2 separate regions of the Homo sapiens genome follow, and region 1 is linked to region 2. The links are contacts of gene promoters, found by promoter capture Hi-C in blood cells and fetal thymus (Javierre and others, 2016). All regions are on one chromosome and are shown on one strand. The core of a region is centred on a gene start or on the middle of the fragment in contact, and the rest is flanking DNA. Distances in the headings are between cores, read along the strand shown.

Region 1 (2,700 bases), core at 175-2,674, 2.9 Mb after region 2:
ATAATAGCATAATAAAAAGGATCTTTTGGGAAAGTTAGTCCTGCAGTAACCAGTAAACAAACACCATTTTTTGAGTACCTCTCCTCCCTACAAAAATTCTGTTCAGCACTGTGAGGACTCAGAAAAACAGAATACAGGTTTACCACCAAAAAACAACCTTCAGGATGGATTGAAGGGTCACAGCAATGTCCAGTACAAATACTTGCGTGCCACACGTATAACTTTAAATAATGCAGTAGCCACATTTAAAAACAGAAAAAGAAACATAAAATACATTTTACTAATACATTTGATTTAACTCAATGTATCCAAAATATTTTTGAGATGTAATATAAAACATGGCATATTTTCTTTCCATTCTTGTTTTCATATTCTCTTCAAAATGCTGTATAACACAGCTCATTTCATTTTGGAGTGGCTGAATTTATTTTTTAATAAAGAAATTATCAAAAAATTGAGCCTAGGAGTTCGAGACCCTGCTGGTCCATGGGGTCTCACTATGTGGGCCAGCATGGTCTTGAACTCCTAGCCTCAAGCTATCCTCCCACCTTGGCCTCCCAAAGTGCTGGGATTACAGGTGTGAGGCACTGCGCCCAGCCTGGAGTAGATGAATTTCAAATGTTCAGCAGCCACATGTGACTAGTGGATACATTATTGAATAGTGTGGTTCTAGATGGTCAGCTTAGAGGCTATTAAAATATAAATTTGAGTTGATTGTATTTTAAGACTATAGTAGGAAGAAAGAGACTGGTCCCCAAAACATCCTGGGAAGAAAACAACATTGCATTTATTCACCAGTATTTATCAAACAACTTCTATCTAGTACACTAATAATCAGAAGCTTACAGTCTACTATGAGCTACAAATATGTAAATAGAAAAGGACTACACTGTAAAGTTTATAGCAATTATAAAGTGTTCTCGGAGCAAAAGGAACAGAACATCCAGTAGCCTGGGAAAATCTGGGAAAGTTTCACGGAGGAGGTGATGCTTAAACTTGGCTTTTAACAGATGGGGGAATTTTTCAAGTGAATGGGGGTGGAGCGGAGAGAAAGGAATTGCTTTAAAAAACACGTATGGACTTCTGAAAGTTCAGGGTTATATGCTAGACATAGTGAGGATATGAGGCCCAAGAAACCTAGAATGTGTTTGGAGAACATGAAGGTAGGAAAGGAAACAAGATGGAGAGGTAGATTGCCACCAGAGGGTTAAGAGCTTTGTAGCCAAGCAACAGAGTTTGAACCTCATGGGTTTATAGAACCAATAGAAGCTTTTACACGGAAAAATGGCTTGATAAGCTTTCTTCTCAGTAACTCTCCATACAGTGGCAGTATGGAGAACATGGTGGGGAAAAACTTATCAAGGGAACAGATTACAGGCCTGTCTCAATAATAGTCCAAAGAAGATATGATGAAGGCCTATTTTAAGCAAGTAGCGTAGGGTTTGGGAGAGACAGAATCAAATGATGGTTTAAAATTAGAAGCAGCAAGATTTGGCAGCTGACTGTATGTGGAGGGCAAGAGAAAGAAGGTGAGAATAACATCAAGCTTTCTAAGTTGGGAGAAAGGTAAATGGTAATGCCGTTAACCCAGATCAAGAATAGAAGAGGTAGGCCTCTAGGTCCAGCAGTCACAGGGCTGAGCCAGCAGCACTAATCCTCCCAGTTCTCCATGTGCTCAGCTTCCTGCTCTGCAACCATGACACAACAGGCGATCTCCTTTGCCAAGGACCATCTGGCTGGTGGCATTGCTGCTGCTGTCGCCAAGATAGTTGTGGCCCTGATTGAGCAGGTGAAGCTGCTGTAGCAGATGCAAGGCGCTAGGAAGCAGGTGACAGCTGACAGCAGTGCACAGGAATTGTGGACTACTTTCTTAAGCAAGCCCTCAACATCACATTCAAGGATAAGCAGACACAGCTATTCCTGGGAGTATGGATGAACACACACAGTTCTAGAGCTGTTTTGCCCACAATCTGGCCTCCAACAAGGCGGCCAGAGCCACCTGTCTCTGTTTTGTGTACTTGCTGGGTTTTGCCAGAACCCATCTGGTGGTCAATGTTGGGAAATCGTACACAGAGCTGGGATTCAGGTTCAAAGACCTAGGAGACTGTCTGGTGAAGATAAGTAAGTCTGATGGGATCTGGGGCCTGTACCAGGGCTTCAGCATCTCTGTGCAGGGCATCATCCTTTTCTGGGCAGCCTGAAGGCCTAAGGCATGCTCCCTGACTCCAAGACCACCACATCATGGTGAGCCAGATGATTGCCCAGACTGTGGTGGTGCGGCCAACATGACCTTCTACCCATTGGGCCCTGTGCAGACCCAAAGGAGCCAACATACTGCACATGGGAACCCTCAATTGCTGGAGGAAGATTTTTAAGGAGGAAAAGGGAAAGCCTTCTTCAAGAGTGCATGGTCTAATGTTCTCAGAGATATGGGAGGAGCTTTTAGGCCTGTCCTGTATGTGGAATTGAAGAAGAGTAAGTGTGTTTCCTCACTAGAAATGAAAACCAAGAGAATCATGTAGCATACTTAACTGTTATGGACCACTGACCTTTGAGAAATTTCATTTTCTTGGTCCTGGCCATAGTACCTCTGTAGAGGACTAGAGAAGGCTTTAGAAAAGGGGTTCACCATGATCATATTCAACCATTGGCACCCTGAATCCACGCATTGATTACTGGCGATAATTATGACATCACCAT
Region 2 (2,700 bases), core at 10-2,509:
AGCATTTCCCAAGGCCTGCCTTGATAGCCATCCAAAAAGGCCAAGCTCATCCAATCTTGCCCTAGATTTATGCTAAAATGCAGTTACAATCGATAGGATGACAGAAAACGACAGCACTTATTTAAATATAATAGGCACTTATTTAAATAGGAGAAGCTGTGACTTCATAGCAAGTGTTGGGGTTAGGAAACTGGGTGGATAAACTTGCTGATGCTGTAGATCTTAGCCTCTACATGAGATCATGTGGAAAATCTGAAAGCATTTTAGGTTCCTTATGTTTGCAATCAAATAACTGTACACCTTTTAATTTAAAAAGTACCATGAGGCACACACACACACTCGCAGGAACTTTTTGGCGTAACAAAACTAGAATTAGATCTAAAGCTAACTGTAGGACTGAGTCTATTCTAAACTGAAAGCCTGGACATCTGGAGTACCAGGGGGAGATGACGTGTTACGGGCTTCCATAAAAGCAGCTGGCTTTGAATGGAAGGAGCCAAGAGGCCAGCACAGGAGCGGATTCGTCGCTTTCACGGCCATCGAGCCGAACCTCTCGCAAGTCCGTGAGCCGTTAAGGAGGCCCCCAGTCCCGACCCTTCGCCCCAAGCCCCTCGGGGTCCCCGGGCCTGGTACTCCTTGCCACACGGGAGGGGCGCGGAAGCCGGGGCGGAGGAGGAGCCAACCCCGGGCTGGGCTGAGACCCGCAGAGGAAGACGCTCTAGGGATTTGTCCCGGACTAGCGAGATGGCAAGGCTGAGGACGGGAGGCTGATTGAGAGGCGAAGGTACACCCTAATCTCAATACAACCTTTGGAGCTAAGCCAGCAATGGTAGAGGGAAGATTCTGCACGTCCCTTCCAGGCGGCCTCCCCGTCACCACCCCCCCCAACCCGCCCCGACCGGAGCTGAGAGTAATTCATACAAAAGGACTCGCCCCTGCCTTGGGGAATCCCAGGGACCGTCGTTAAACTCCCACTAACGTAGAACCCAGAGATCGCTGCGTTCCCGCCCCCTCACCCGCCCGCTCTCGTCATCACTGAGGTGGAGAAGAGCATGCGTGAGGCTCCGGTGCCCGTCAGTGGGCAGAGCGCACATCGCCCACAGTCCCCGAGAAGTTGGGGGGAGGGGTCGGCAATTGAACCGGTGCCTAGAGAAGGTGGCGCGGGGTAAACTGGGAAAGTGATGTCGTGTACTGGCTCCGCCTTTTTCCCGAGGGTGGGGGAGAACCGTATATAAGTGCAGTAGTCGCCGTGAACGTTCTTTTTCGCAACGGGTTTGCCGCCAGAACACAGGTAAGTGCCGTGTGTGGTTCCCGCGGGCCTGGCCTCTTTACGGGTTATGGCCCTTGCGTGCCTTGAATTACTTCCACGCCCCTGGCTGCAGTACGTGATTCTTGATCCCGAGCTTCGGGTTGGAAGTGGGTGGGAGAGTTCGAGGCCTTGCGCTTAAGGAGCCCCTTCGCCTCGTGCTTGAGTTGAGGCCTGGCTTGGGCGCTGGGGCCGCCGCGTGCGAATCTGGTGGCACCTTCGCGCCTGTCTCGCTGCTTTCGATAAGTCTCTAGCCATTTAAAATTTTTGATGACCTGCTGCGACGCTTTTTTTCTGGCAAGATAGTCTTGTAAATGCGGGCCAAGATCTGCACACTGGTATTTCGGTTTTTGGGGCCGCGGGCGGCGACGGGGCCCGTGCGTCCCAGCGCACATGTTCGGCGAGGCGGGGCCTGCGAGCGCGGCCACCGAGAATCGGACGGGGGTAGTCTCAAGCTGGCCGGCCTGCTCTGGTGCCTGGCCTCGCGCCGCCGTGTATCGCCCCGCCCTGGGCGGCAAGGCTGGCCCGGTCGGCACCAGTTGCGTGAGCGGAAAGATGGCCGCTTCCCGGCCCTGCTGCAGGGAGCTCAAAATGGAGGACGCGGCGCTCGGGAGAGCGGGCGGGTGAGTCACCCACACAAAGGAAAAGGGCCTTTCCGTCCTCAGCCGTCGCTTCATGTGACTCCACGGAGTACCGGGCGCCGTCCAGGCACCTCGATTAGTTCTCGAGCTTTTGGAGTACGTCGTCTTTAGGTTGGGGGGAGGGGTTTTATGCGATGGAGTTTCCCCACACTGAGTGGGTGGAGACTGAAGTTAGGCCAGCTTGGCACTTGATGTAATTCTCCTTGGAATTTGCCCTTTTTGAGTTTGGATCTTGGTTCATTCTCAAGCCTCAGACAGTGGTTCAAAGTTTTTTTCTTCCATTTCAGGTGTCGTGAAAACTACCCCTAAAAGCCAAAATGGGAAAGGAAAAGACTCATATCAACATTGTCGTCATTGGACACGTAGATTCGGGCAAGTCCACCACTACTGGCCATCTGATCTATAAATGCGGTGGCATCGACAAAAGAACCATTGAAAAATTTGAGAAGGAGGCTGCTGAGGTATGTTTAATACCAGAAAGGGAAAGATCAACTAAAATGAGTTTTACCAGCAGAATCATTAGGTGATTTCCCCAGAACTAGTGAGTGGTTTAGATCTGAATGCTAATAGTTAAGACCTTACTTATGAAATAATTTTGCTTTTGGTGACTTCTGTAATCGTATTGCTAGTGAGTAGATTTGGATGTTAATAGTTAAGATCCGACTTATAAAAGTTTGATTTTTGGTTGCTTCTGTAACCCAAAGTGACTAAAATCACTTTGGACTTGGAGTTGTAAAGTGGAAACTGCCAATT

Evidence for each region. The method cuts DNA at HindIII sites, captures the fragments that hold promoters and counts their contacts. A CHiCAGO score of 5 or more calls a contact.
Region 1: a contact is called between a fragment that was not itself captured here and the fragment with the promoter of EEF1A1 in region 2, in 1 of 17 cell types (non-activated CD4 T cells). The highest score is 6.4, in non-activated CD4 T cells.

Annotation. Positions count from the first base shown.
Region 1 is chr6:70,663,276-70,665,975 of GRCh38, reverse strand. It overlaps the pseudogene SLC25A6P6. Among named protein-coding and RNA genes, the nearest start is that of SMAP1, 3.3 kb to the left of the region's middle. The HindIII fragment of the contact is 249 bases long and covers 1,300-1,548 here.
Region 2 is chr6:73,519,591-73,522,290 of GRCh38, reverse strand. It overlaps EEF1A1 (eukaryotic translation elongation factor 1 alpha 1), which reads left to right and starts at 1,259. Exons shown (of 8, transcript NM_001402.6): 1 at 1,259-1,291; 2 at 2,235-2,408. The coding sequence starts at 2,265. RefSeq lists a silencer at 502-731 and enhancers at 454-1,276, 1,312-1,391, 1,442-1,551, 1,277-2,098, 1,842-2,141 and 1 more. The HindIII fragment of the contact is 5,848 bases long and covers 1-2,700 here.